Regions from separate parts of the Homo sapiens genome. Here regions 1 and 3 are each linked to region 2. Evidence: promoter capture Hi-C in 16 types of primary human blood cells and fetal thymus (Javierre and others, 2016). All regions are on one chromosome and are shown on one strand. Each heading gives the region's core, a stretch centred on a gene start or on the middle of the fragment in contact. The rest is flanking DNA. Distances are from core to core; before and after follow the strand shown. Region 1 overlaps NCR2 (natural cytotoxicity triggering receptor 2). Region 2 holds the start of MDFI (MyoD family inhibitor). Region 3 has its middle 43 kb from the start of NCR2.

Region 1 (4,425 bases), core at 1,472-3,971, 290 kb after region 2:
TGCTTATTGATTTCACAAGTTCCTTTTATAGTTTGGATATTAATCTTTGTATAACATATATATTATTTTTAAAATCTCGCTTTACTTTTTTGTCTTTTTTTTTGAGATGGAGTCCCACTCTATCACCAGGCTGGAGAGCAGTGGCATGATCTCAGCTCATTGCAACCTCCGCCTCCCAGGTTCAAGCAAGTCTCTTGCCTCAGCCTCCCAAGTAGCTGGGATTACAGGCATGCACCACCACGCCCAGCTAATTTTTGTATTTTTAGTAGAGACAGGGTTTCACTATGTTGGCCAGGCTGGTCTTGAACTCCTGACCTCATGATCCGCCCCTCTTGGCCTCCCAAAGTGCTGGGATTACAGGCGTGAGCCACTGCGCCTGGCCTCCGTTTACATTTTAAAAAACATTGTTTGTAGTATCTTTCGTCATACACAGGATTGTGTTTTAGGCAGAAAAATCAGTCAGTCCTCCTTCCTGGCTCTGTATGGGGGAGCTGTTTATATGGAGGGCCCGTCCTTCTCTAGGGGGCAGGTGATGGCATTTCTCCCAGAAGCTTGGGGAGGCCATTTCCTCAGGGGAGGAGCTCACCTGGGGACACTTGGTGACAACTTTGGAAATACTGACAGCTGCAGGGAACACTGTTTCCCACCACTGTGCCTGAGCTCCTTTCTTGCAGCCCAGTTTGGGGAGGGCAGCAAAGCCAGACGAAAGGGTGTTGTCCCAGGTCAAATATGGGAAGGACATAGTTAAGCTTTGTGCCTGGTCAGGTAACTGGCAGGTCACGGTGATTGGCTGAGATGCTCTCCCTTCCCCACAGAGGCCCTTCCTGTTCCCTTCCCTCAGTTCCTCAGGCTCAGATTTTTCTCCTCAGGAGCATCAGATCTGGGAGCCCTGGAGGGCTGGGGAAGGGGAAGCGGCCACATGTATACCCACCCCTGGGATCAGCCTCCTGCTGGTCCTCTGGCTGCAAGGTCACTTCTTCCTGCCCCACTTCCCTCTCCAGCCTTCTTTCTTGTCCTCCTCCCCAGTCCCCCATCTGAAGCTGAGGGCACCTGCAAACTAGGTGCAGGTGCCATTAGCAGCAAGAGGCAGAGGAGAGGGTCCTCCCAACCAAGCCGCTTCTCCTTGAGCTCTTGGGGTGGTGACCGAGGAATCCTCAGAGAGGGTGCTGGGAGGGAATAGGATTTGTTCAGGAGGAGGGGAGTCAGGAGGAGGAGAGAGGAAAGCCTCAGCCCTGGAAGCATGGCTGGACCACTTGCTCCTGCTCTCTTACCTACTAATGCTTGAGAAAGGTTGGTTGGGGAAAAAATAGTAGATACAAGAATCTAACATATTTCCCTTTATTGAATGTCGGGATTCTTAGAATTGGAAAAATGATGTTTACATATAATGTACAAAGAAAAGAGAAAAACACCAGGAAAGCTGGTGTGGTGTGTGCAACTCTAGGTGCAGCTGTTGTGGAGATCTGCTGACCAATGTCAAGTTCAGGGCTGCACCAAGATTTGAGCACCTCGCTGAGACTGTGGACTCTGCTTCGATGGTGGCTGTGTTGGCTGTTATCCCATAACCACAGGAAGTCCCTGGGTGTTTGGGCCAGCAGGGTTGGAATTCTACCAGGTATTGGCTAGGGTGCATTTTTGTAATCAGTAGGCCCGGGGCTGGGGGTGGGGGTGTGTGTGCCTTTTTGTGATCTCTCTGCAAGATGGGTCATTTGTCTAATTTCCATGGAGGAACAGGATGGGCCTATAGCAGGCCCTGTCATCATCAGAGCTCAGGGGCCAGGTGCTCCACTCCACTTCTGTATTTTTAACTCACGGTATTTTTTTTTATGTGGAAGTATTTTTAAATAAATTGCAGATATCCTGACATTCCACCCTTAAATAATTTATCATACATTTCTAAAACAAGAGCTCTTGCTGCTTAGCAAATTAATATGATCACAGCCAATGCAATTAAAAATAGTTTCTTAATAGACTCTACTACTCAGTGCATATTCACATTTAGACCCAACAAGTTCAGCACTTCAACCATAAGCAGAAACTCTGGTCTGTCTGAAACCTTGGCTGTCGCCAGACTTTCTTTTTTCTTTTTTTGAGACAGAGTTTCTCTCTTGTTTCCCAGGCTGGAGTGCAATGGCGCGATCTCGGCTCACTGCAACCTCCACCTCCCAGGTTCAAGCAATTCTGCTGCCTCAGCCTCCCTAGTAGCTGGGATTACAGGCATGTGCCACCACGCCCGGCTAATTTTGCATTTTTAGTAGAGACAGGGTTTCTCCATGTTGGTCAGGCTGGTCTCGAACGCCCAACCTCAGGTGATCTGCCTGCCTCGGCCTCCCAAAGTGCTGGGATTACAGGCATGAGCCACCACGCCCGGCCGGCTGTCCGCAGACTTTCTAGCCTTTGGCAGGGTATGGAGCCTGGTACCCAGAGGAGCCCAGGAAGGAAGGCGAAACTGGAAACAGGAAGCCGGAGACTGGGGTTTCCAAGAAAAAGACCGCAGACCCTGGGAGCCTAAATTTTCCCTGGATACCAGGAAGCTCCCAGAACCTTAGGGGTGAGTAGAGATGGGGCAGGGTTTCGCCTCCTTCCTGGGACTGTGTGCCCTCTTTCGGGCTCATGGAAGGTCATGGCATCCTGACTAACATGACTTCACAGCAAAGTTCCTCATCCTTGTTGGGCTCCTTCCCCCACTGTCTGGTACCCACTAGTGTCCTGCTTTTCTATCCCTCTCCAGCCACATATTTTCAGCTTTGCTCCCCCTCCACTGTCCCCTTCCCTCAGCCTGTGCTGGAATCTTGCACAGGGGCCCCGCCACCTATGGACTCACAACTGTGTTCCCAGGCTGGCTCCTTTTGTTTGTGTCCTGTGGTGCTTGGTCCCTGAGCTGGGCACAGGCAGGTGTTGAGTTCATGCTTATTGACTTATCCTCATGGGGAAGGGGTTTCAGAACTCATCTCCACCCCCTTCATTTTCTAGAGAAAGAAACGGACGTTCAGAGAGGGGCAGTGACCTATCTGTCCGAGTTCATACAGGGCTGAGCTGAGAAAACAAACCCAGGTCTTGTTTCCAAGCCTTGCTCGCCCACAGCCTTTCTACTCACTGGGCTTGTGTACAGTGCCCTTCCCTGATTATAACAGCATCTAAGGCAGCTCCCAGACGTACAGGGGACATCAGGTGAACTGAAGATAAGAAAGGGTTATGATGGAGGAAAGAGGGCAAACTAGAGAAGCTGGTCCCCTAGAGATCAAATGTGCGGATGCAGACAGAGTTTGAAGGAAACTTAGGAAACAACAGGAATAAAACATTCAGATAATTTTATTATTCACAAAGTGTGTTCATCATCATCATCGCTTATCTTAGTCCTTGCAACAGTGTGATATAATATTTCTCTCTCTACAGGTGAGGAAACTGAGGTCCAGGGAAGGTCCGTGACCTGTTGAAGGTGGCAGGTGGCTTTTTGGGTATCCAGGCTCCTGAGCTCCATCATGGTTTTCCACCATATGTCCCCCCTGCAATCAGAGCAGGAAACCAGGAAGGTGGTCAGAGACTGCCACATAATTGCACATAGGTGCAGAGGCAACCCCTTCCCCATCCCACTACTCGCAGGGTTGGTTGCCATACCCACCTCACAAGGATGAAGTCTGCTCCTGGCCACTGCTGCCAGAAAAGTGTCAGTGAGCATGCATGGATTTTGAGCCCAGTTTGGTCAGTTTCCTCACCCTGATTTTTTCCTTTATTTTCCTCTACTGTCCACCAAGAAGAGGGGCCTGTTTCCTTCAAGTCTCCAGGTTCACCCTCTGCCCACACACTATTATCTGTCTTTTCAGCTGCAGTAAGCTCTGGAAAGGCAGATGGTCTCTGCTGTGTCACAGTTGAGTCTGCTTTCTTCTACACCTCACTCCCTCTAAAACTCAGCCTTTGTTGGGTGTTCTCCTTTTGTCTGGTGCTTTTTGAATACATCACCCTACTTAGAAATCCAAATAGCTTGGTAATATGTGTGTTATCAGTTCTGTTTTTACCAATAAGAAGACTCGGGGTAGAGACCTTAAGAAACTTTTCCAGCATCATTTAGTTGGTAAAAAGGAAGGGGGTTCTTTGTTACACAATGGCAGAAAGTTTAGCAACACTGTCATCTGCAGTAATGTGGAAAGTAGAAAATGTCCCTCATGAGCTGGGTTGTACAGCTAGGATTTCCAGGCAAACTCTTGAAAGTGCTACCTGGTTTCTTCTTGTGGCTCATTGTGAAATGAGAGAGGTGAGAGGTAAACTCTAGGCAGGATTATTCAACATGAGGGAGCTGGGACTTGATGACTTAAAAAATTCTCAGCCTCCAGACAGTAAATGATGCTAAAATCAAATCCAGGGCACGTTCAGGAATATGTGGTCTAAAGATGAAACCAAGGCTATGCTGTAAAATCCTTTGTTAAG
Region 2 (4,543 bases), core at 1,987-4,486:
TCTTTGTGGACCGTGGATCTGGGCTTCCCACTTGGAACTCTGACCGTCTCTGGAGAGGGAAGGCCAGAACCTCATATGGTCAGAGAGTGGTGGCTGGAACCCCACACCTCAATCTTTCCTTGGCTTGGCATTCAAGGCCTCAGTCCGGACCTTCAATCTATCAATGTACCAGGATCCTGTGTTCCACGCAGACCGGCCTCCCCATGGTCTGGGCCATTGCCGGATCTTCTGACCAGTCCACCCATGCTTATATTATTCCTGTTGACCAGAAGATCCTACCCCTCCCACTCTCCAAACCCAACTCATCCTGGACCAAGCTCAAACTTCACCTCTTCCTCTAGACAGCTTTCTCTGACCCAGTTGCTAAGAATTTAGCTCCAGTGTTCCCTCTTGTTAATTACAATTTGCTAGTGAAATCCCGGCTTCTCAACCAGACTACAGCCCTCCCAACTCACTCCCTTGGAGTGGTGTCCATATTCATCTCTGCATCCCCAGGGGGCACTCGGCAAATGCCTACTGGGGAGTACTTTCTGGAGTTTGGAATGCCCCTGTCAGGGGAAGGAGAAAGAGAAAGAAATGAAGACTAGGGGTGGCACCTGGACCTGAACCCCAAGAAAGTCAGAGAGGGTGGACTCCTTTGATGCACACATGGTTGATGCGAATCCAATGGTCACACTCCCAGGCCACCAAGCTGAAAACTAAAGAGGGCCTGAGCTGGCCAGTTAGTCTGGGACAAGTTGGTTTTATTTTAGGTCTGAAGGTTCCAAATCCCCAGGAAATTCAATTTAGAACCATGAACAGGAATGTGACGCCCCAATGCTGGGCAAAAATGTGCCTGTGGGCTAGGGAGCCAGGCTCCCGGGGCTCTCAGGGGTGGGTGGGGAGGAGGCCACTAGGAGAGCCAAGGGTGTGGGGGCTTGGCCACCTGCCCCTACCAGATCTGCCCTGAGTCCCCTTGTGCCCTGTCTGCATCTGGGGTGGCTGAGGGAGGAGGCCGACTTGCTCCCTGGCTGTCCTGCCAGCAGAGCCCCTGGGGCAGCGCTGTGGCCTTGCTGTTCTGTCAGCACTCAGGGAGTAAAGCGTGGGGGATTCTGGTCTCAAATTCAGGCATCTGTGGGGTTTTGGCTGGGTCTCCTGCGGTTTGGGCTTCCTGGGCAGCAGGCTCATTCTCCCAAGGCGGTGGCAGAGCGAAGCCTTGAGTTATGAAAGCCGCATTGTCTGGCCCAGCCCAGGCTGGGGAGGGGGTCTGCTGGGGTGCTGGGGGGCCTCAAGTTACAGCCCAGAGCTTAACCCTCCCAGTTGCCCACGCTGGCCCCGGTTGTGTGCAGTTAGCCCTCTCCTCTTGCTGCTGGAGCTGAGAATGGCTTCAACAAGGAAGGGGATCTTGGAAGGAGGTAGTGGAGGGAGAGCAGAGAAAATGGATAAGGGGAGGGAGAAAGCTGGAGAGAGTAAGAGGATGGGAGAGCAGGAGGCTGAGGAAGGGAGGAGGCAGGAAGGAGGCCCAGCGGGACAGGGAAGGTTCCCAGACACAGAGAAGGACCCTTCCAAGTGCCCTGCCCCCAGCTGTCCCTCCGGGCTGAAGGAGTCCAATTCTTGGAGGCGCTCATCCTGCAGAAGGCCCCGTTGCAGGGGCCCCACAGAGACAGCAGGCAATTTGAGGCTTGGCCAAGATGGGCTGTAGACACACTGGCCTCATCTATGTGCTGGCTGTTGGCCAGACATCTTCCACTTGTCCTCACTCTGGTTTAGAGGACCCCCCACCTCCACAACTAGGCGTCCATACCAAGTAGGTGGGGAGTGGAGAGGGGCCTCCTAGAACAGGCAGGCAGGCCGGCTTCGAGGGCGCATGTGGAGGCTCAGGCCAGAGAAGGGAAGGAGCTTGTCCAAGGCAAGGCAGGGAGTTCGTGTCAGAGGTTCAGGAACAGACCTTCATTATTCAGAGTCAAAGAGGGGAAAGGGGGAATGGCGCTGGTGGGGAGGAAGGCAACGACTTAGACAGTGGAGATTCCAATTATGAAATCCGGGTCCACACTCCTGCACGCGGTTCCCCTGGCCCTGAACACATCCCAGAGGTTCCTGACTTCTCCTTGACCCGGACTTCCATTTGGGAGCTTCGGCTTAGGCATCTGGCCAGTGAGGGGAAGGGACTGAGAACCAGGGCCGGCGAGGCCCCTACTCCAAACCCCTTCAGGGAGTCACAAACCGTACTTGGCGTGAGAGGCTCCCCCAGGAATCGCGGGTAGGTTACAGACGGCGCCAGGCGCGGGACGGGGCATTTCACTTGGGCTGAAGACACTGGGTTGGGGTGCGTGTGTGTGCACAGGGCAGGGGCGGCGGGGACTGGCCGGCACGAGAGGGAAGGAAGGCGAGGGAGAAGGGATGGCAAGAAAGAGGGGAGGGGCTGGGTCCTGCAGCCGCTCGCGGCAGACAAAAGTTTTCGGGAAGCGCTGGGCTCTGGTTGGGCTGGGGGAAGGGAAGTAGAGAAAGATTCAGACAACGCCCCCTCCCCCACACCAGGCCCCCACAAATATTTACACACTGGGCAGAAACAGTTGAGACACAAATCCCAGACGGACAGACACCGCGGAGTGTATGTGTGTGTGTTTGTGTGTGTGTGTGTGTGTGTCTGGTGTCGGGAGTTGCGGGGAGTTGGAGCCAACTTGGCGCAGCCGCAGCCTCTGTTCAGGGCCCTGCCTCCCTCGCCCAGCCCCCTACTCTCCTTGGACCAAGTCCTCAAACCCAGACTTTTCGTCCCTACCCCCACCAAGCTCCCTGGAACGGTCTCCCCGCGTCTGGGGACGGAGAGGAGAACTAATAACTGGCCCCTTCAGCCGCCCACCCGCCCCTGTCCAGCTTCGCTCGCCACTCCCGGTCCTACCTGGGCCCGGGGCTGCGCTGGGGGCTCCATAGGGCGCGTCGCAGCCAGAGGGGCGCTGGCCGCTCACCTGGTACATCGGCCCCGGACCTGCGGAAAACAGGGCTCAGCGGGCGGCGCCGGAGGCGGGCAAGGGGCGATTCCCCCGCAGATGCGCGCCTCCCACGTCCACTCACTCGTGCGAGCCGTGCTACGCTCTCTTCCAGCCGGATCCCCGCGCGGGGCCCGCCATGCGCGCCTGCTCCGGGCGCCCCTGCCCAGGTCCCGCTGGCTCCCGGGTGCTCGCCTGGCGCCCCTTCCCCTCTCACTCGCTGCTTTCTCCCATTTCGGCGCCAGCTCACGCCGTTCGCCCCTTCCTTCTTCCTTCTCTCCCTCCAGCCCCCCTCGCTCCTCCCCTACTCGCCTCTCCCCTCCCCTCTTCCCTGGCCCACCCTCTCCCCGCCCCCTCCTCGCCTTCTCAGTCGCCCCTCTGCGGGTCCCCTCCCCCGCGCCGGGCTTGGCCCAGCCAGGAGCCGGACACGTCTGTCCGCGGGGCGCCCGAGGCCCGAGCCCCCACAGGAAGCCGGCTGGGCGCGCTTCCTCCGCGCTCTCGGAGCGGGGCCTCAGTCTCCCCGACTCCCTGCTCTCTGAGGCCCGGAGATCCGCGGGCTGCACGTTTTCCTTTGCCTGTCCAAACTCTGCAAAAGTTTCTGGAAAATCAGGAGAAAGAGAGAAACCTCAACCACTTCGTGGAACTGTCTGAATAATTGCGGCCTCCAAATCTCTTTGCCCCAAAGATGGGCGCGATCAAGTTTCTCAGTCACGTTTTACCCACCCCCTCGGTCTCCTCCCGGGGTCCTAAGCCAGGGACAGGGATCTGGGCTCCCAGGCCACCCGCCCACAGCGCCAGAGTTGTCTGTCCGGGAAATCCGGTTAGTGACCAACCAGCCTGCCCTGTGCCGCAGCAGCCCAGAGCATCCTCGACCCTCCTGCCCCTACCAGCTGTGCGTGGGAATGTGTGTCAGAAAACCGACTTTGGGGGCAAAGAGAGGTCCTCCGAATTCAGCCCTTCTTTGGGATCCAGACTGAATCCGAGGGCTTCTAAGATGAGGGTTCGGGGAGAAAGGGGAGGGAGGGAGCCTCTCCCGGTGGGGCCAGCCGGGCGGCGCGTCTGGATGGTGAGCCGTGGTGGTAGGAAGAAGCCGCTGCCAGGCAGTCCAAGAGGGTTCAGGGGCCCTCAGCGCGACCCCGGAACCTGGTCCCCGAGAATGGGGAAGACTTTGGAGCCTGCGGCTCTCCAGGTGGGGCTGGGCGGGCCCGTGGGATGATGCTCAGGTGGGGCAGCCCCCTGGGGTGACAGCGTCTCGGCCGTACTTGTCTAGGGCCGCCTAGGAGCCGCGTCTGGGCTCCCCGCCACGAGGGCCAGTGAGCACACTGGAAGGCAGCGGCGGCACCAGGCCACCTTTTCTAGTCCCGAGTCCAGCCGGGTCTGGAAGTGGAGAGCTGGGACGCAGGAGGCCGGGCGTCCCAGCTCCCCACTTCTTGGACTCTCCTAGCCCCCATAGTCGCTACTTACGGCTATCGCAGGTCCTGGGGCGCCGTCGGGGCCAGGACCGGGATGGCCCCCACGGCGCCGGCAGCGCTCTCGGCACCCGCGGCCACGTCCCAGCGATGGGCTGGGGTGGTTGC
Region 3 (4,721 bases), core at 1,212-3,711, 260 kb after region 2:
AAAAACAAACCTGCTGGGATTTTGATTGGAATTGTATTGAATCTATGCATTCGTTTTGAGAACTGACATCATTATAATATGAGCCTTCCCATTTGTGAACATGGTATAACCCTACATTTATTTAGGTCTTTAAGTTCCCTCAATAATGCTTTGTAGTTCAGTGTAGAGGTCTTGCACATTTTTCATTTGATTTATTCCTAGGCATTTGATGGGCTTTGCTGCTATTGTAAATTGTATTTTTAGAAGGGATTTTCATAAGCACTAGTGATTGGTAGTGTAGGAAGGAGAACCCCAGCAATACCTGCCCTTCATCTTTAAAGAAATCCAAGCTTATGGAGATATAATTCATATTCCATACAATTCACCCATTTAAAGTATACACTTCAATGGTTTTTAGAATATTTGTAGGTATGTGTAACCATCACCACTGTCAATTTTAAAACATTTTCATCACCTTAAAAAGTAACCTCATGCCCTTTAGCTATTACCCACCTATTGCATCTGTTACAGTCTGAATACGTCTCCCCTCTAAATTCATATGTTGAAATCCTAACCCTCAAGGTGATGGCATTAGGAGGTGGGGCCTTTTAGGAGGCGATTAGGTCATGATAGCAGAGTTCTTGTGAATGGGATTAGTGCCCTTATAAAAAAGGCCCAGAGAGTTACTTTACCTCTTCTAGCAAGTGAGGACACAGTGAGAAGTCTCCACCTGGAGAAAGTGGGCCCTCACCAGACACCAAATCTGCTGCTGCCTTCATGCTGGACTTCCCAGCCTCCAGAACTATGAGAAATAAATTCCTGCTGCCTATAAGCCACCCAGTCTATGGTATTTTGTTACAGCAGCCCAAATGAACTAAGACAGCATTTAAAAAGAATAATTTCATTTTCTAATTTTTGTTGCTGTTATAGATAAATATAATTTATCTTAATGCATCAATCTTGTATTAAAAAAACTTGTATTTAGGCTGGGCACAGTGGCTCATGTCTGCAATCCCAGCACTTTGGGAGGCCGAGGTGGGCAGATCATCTGAGGTCAGGAGTTCAAGGCCAGCCTGGCCAACAAGGTGAAACCCCATCTCTACAAAAATACAAAAATTAGCCAGGCATGATGATGGATGCATGTAATCCCAGCTACTCAGGAGACTGAGGTGGGAGAATTGCTTGAACCCAGGAGGCGGAGGTTGAAATGAGCTGAGATCACGCCATTGCACTCCAGCCTGGGCAACAGAGCAAGACTCTGTCTCAAAAAAAAAAGCAAACAAACAAAAACAACAATAACAACAACAAAAATCTTATTATTTAGTGACTTGGCTAAATTCACCATTAATTCCAGTAGTTTGCAGATTATTTTGAATTTTCTATTTATATAATCATATCATCTATGAATAATATTTCTCCTTTCCCTCTACCAATCCTTAAATCTTTTATTTCATTTTCTTGTCTTATTGTCCGGGCTAGGATATCTAATACAATGTTAAATAGAAGTGTTGATACTGGATATTGTATCTTCTCCTGATAGAAAGGAGGAAACTTTCACTATTTCATCATTAAGCATAATTATTGCTGTAGGAGTTTGTAGATAGTCTTTATCAGATTGAGGAAGTTCCCTCTAAGTGTACTATGTTTATCATGAATGGCCTACTAAGTTCAAATCCTGAATCTGACACTTATTAGTCATTCTACTTTAGGGAAGTCACTTGCCTTCTCTGAACTTCAGTTTCTCCATCTTAAACTGCAGATTTCTATCTTAAAAGTTCTTGTGAAACTGAGGACATTTATAAGGGACACCCAACCCATAGTAGGTGCTCAGTTAAATGCCTGGCATTACATTGTTTTATTTATCATCCTTCTCCCCCAGTATATATGCCCCATGAGGGTTCGCTTTGCCTCTGTTGTTCATTACTGTATCCCTAGTATTTAGAACAGTGCCTGACAAATAGAATTTGCTTCTGGAAAAAAATGTGATTAACCAATGTAAATTTCCTTTTTTCTGGAATGCTATGTCTATTAGGCATGATTTTAGAACCAAGAATTATACTTACCCCTAGACAATCACATTGTTCTATTGAACACTTCCAAAGTTCGGTGCTGACTTTCCTTTTTGACTATTAACATGTGTCATATTTTCCGCTTCTAGATCATTTAATCCAGATTTGCAATCCCTTCTCCCCTAACTTTCTGTACACCAAGAACAGAGCTCAAGGGTAGAGTCTCAGCACTCCCAGCTGCACTGCATGACAGTAGACAAGTCCCTTCCCCTTCTGAGCCTCTGGGAGAGGGTCAGATGCCTCCAACTTAGGGGTTTCCTCCAATTGTGGTTCCAAGGCACACGCGATGCTGTGGCCTTGTAAATCTCCTGAGAATCTGCCTTGCTTTTTCCAAGTATCTCTTGAGAACAGGAAATAAACCACCCCCCACAAATTCTGAAATCAGGGAGGTGAATGAGGAGCTTGCAGCCTGAGGGATGAAGACTAGAACAGGGACTCCTCTGGTCACTTCCAATGCTACCTACCCTCAGTTCACATCAGAAATTCCAGAGCACATCTTTCTCCCCTCCTGGGGAATGTTCTCCCTTTGCCACCGAATCCCTTCTGTCCTCCACATCAAGGGTTCTTAACCTTGGCATCACTGGCATTTTGGGCTGGAAAATTTCTTTGTTGTGGAAGCTGCTCTGTGCATTATAGGATACACACTCACCCCAACTCATACTCACCATCCTCTTGTCTGAACTCTGAGCAGCCCAAACCAGACTTACCACCATACCAGGTGGAAATAGTGGCTAACATTTATGGGCACTACTCTCATGAGAAGGTTCCGTCTGTGAGAAAGTGGGTCCTCACCAGACACCAAATCTTCTGGTGTCTTGATGCTGGACTTTCCAGGCTCTAGAACTGTAAGAAATAAATTTCTGCTGCCTACAAGCCATCCAGTCTATGGTATTTTGTTACAGCAACCCAAATGAACTAATACAGCATTTAAAAGGAACAATTTCATTTTCCATTTTTTGTTGCTGTTATAGAGAAATATATTTATCTGGTGTAATCCTCACAACATCCCCGTGAGTAAATATTAGCATTTTCCTCTCCATACTCCAGATAAGGATACTGAGGCTCAGAGATGTGAAGTCACTTGTCCAAGATTACATAGATAGTAAGTGGTGGAGCTGGGATTTGGCCCCAGCTGTCAGGTTCACCTGACAGAGGCATAAACCACTACTCATTCTATTCCATTAGATATCTCCTCCGTGATTTCCTGGGTGTCTATCTGCCTCCCAAACTTGATTGCAAATCTTTGAAGGCAGGGGCTAAAATATATTCACAGATACTTTACAGTGTTGAACACAGGGGAAGAGGGCCAAACATGATTCATTGATTGATTTCCTGCTACTGTAGAGTTTGCAGCATTAGAATATGTGAGCGTATGAATGAGATTGAGGACTAGGGAGAAGAAATTTCCAATTTCAGGCTTTAATAATTATAAATTCACAAAATGCACTTAATATAGGTACCCATCTCAATGAATTTGCATAATCTGAACACACTTGTGTAACTACATCAAGAATCAGAAGACCACCATTGGCCCAGAAACCTCCTTCATAATCCCTTTTAGCCATGCCTTCTCTAAGTAACCATGATTCTGCTTTCTAATAGCATACATAGATTTATTTTGCCTGTTTTTGTACTTTAAATAAATGGAACCACAGAGAATGTACTTTCGGGTCTGATTTCTTTTTCTTTTCCTTCTTCTTTTCTCTTCTTTCTTTCTTTTTCTTAAAGACAAGGTCTCACTCTGTTGCTCAGGCTGGAATGCAGTGGGTGCCATGACAGTTCACTGCAGCCTCGACCTCCTGGGCTCAAGTGATCCTCCCATCTCAGCCTCCCCAGTGGCTGGGACTACAGATGCTCTAATTTTTGTACTTTTGTAGAGACAGGTCTTGAATTCCTGGGCTCAAGCGATCTGCCCGCCTCTGCCTCCCAAAGTGCTGGGATTATAGTTGTGAGCCATTGAGCCAGGCCAGGTCCAGTTTCTTTTGCTCAGCATGAGAGTCATCTATGTGGTTACATGTAGCATAGCTCATTCTTTCTCTTTTCTATATAGTATTCCAGTGTGTAACTATATCACAGCTAATTTCATAGCTAATGGACATTTGGTAGTTTGCAGTTTGGGGCTATTGTGAAGAGTACTGTGTAAACATTTTTTTGTACATGTCCTTTGGTGAGCATAGGACAGCATTTCTGTTGGGACAATGCCTGCCAGTGGAACTGCTGGGTCATAGGGTATGCATGCTTCAGTTTTAGTAGACACCACCAAAGTTTCTCAGTTTTTATATTTGGAGGCTTTTAAAGCCAACATTGATTTCTACCCCTCCTCAGGCTGCTTTCCTGAAGAGCAGTGGTATGGCCTCTCTGGAATCTTCCAGATGACCACATCTGGCAAGAACCTTCTTTACAGAAAAAATGATGTGAGATTAAAGGGAACGCATATATCTCAAGTCCAAGGCTTTCATTATGCACAAGGAGAAACAGAGGCTCAGAGACAAGAGCTGACTGGTCCAAGGTGGTGTGGTTCTACCTGGCCTAGAAGCCAAGCTTCTGGACTCCGGATCTTCATAATGCTTTTTTGAGTACCTGAAGAGAGATACTCATTGCAAAGACGATGGGGTGGAACTAGAGGCTGGTCGGACCCACCAGGATTGTAAGTGAAATATGAGGGTCCGGGGT

What was found. The method cuts DNA at HindIII sites, captures the fragments that hold promoters and counts their contacts. A CHiCAGO score of 5 or more calls a contact.
Region 1: a fragment that was not itself captured here is called in contact with the fragment with the promoter of MDFI in region 2 in 1 of 17 cell types (M1 macrophages); the score reaches 6.6 in M1 macrophages.
Region 3: a contact is called between a fragment that was not itself captured here and the fragment with the promoter of MDFI in region 2, in 2 of 17 cell types (fetal thymus and M1 macrophages). The highest score is 6.8, in fetal thymus.

Annotation. Positions count from the first base shown.
Region 1 is chr6:41,349,759-41,354,183 of GRCh38, reverse strand. NCR2 (natural cytotoxicity triggering receptor 2) reads right to left here. Exons shown (of 5, transcript NM_004828.4): 5 at 3,295-3,506. The coding sequence ends at 3,320. Among named protein-coding and RNA genes, the nearest start is that of NCR2, 16 kb to the right of the region's middle. The HindIII fragment of the contact is 3,939 bases long and covers 752-4,425 here.
Region 2 is chr6:41,637,161-41,641,703 of GRCh38, reverse strand. It overlaps MDFI (MyoD family inhibitor), which reads right to left and starts at 3,236. Exons shown (of 5, transcript NM_005586.4): 1 at 3,052-3,236; 2 at 2,879-2,965. The coding sequence starts at 2,954. RefSeq lists an enhancer at 583-1,163. The HindIII fragment of the contact is 14,281 bases long and covers 1-4,543 here.
Region 3 is chr6:41,376,436-41,381,156 of GRCh38, reverse strand. No RefSeq gene overlaps it. Among named protein-coding and RNA genes, the nearest start is that of NCR2, 43 kb to the right of the region's middle. The HindIII fragment of the contact is 4,260 bases long and covers 332-4,591 here.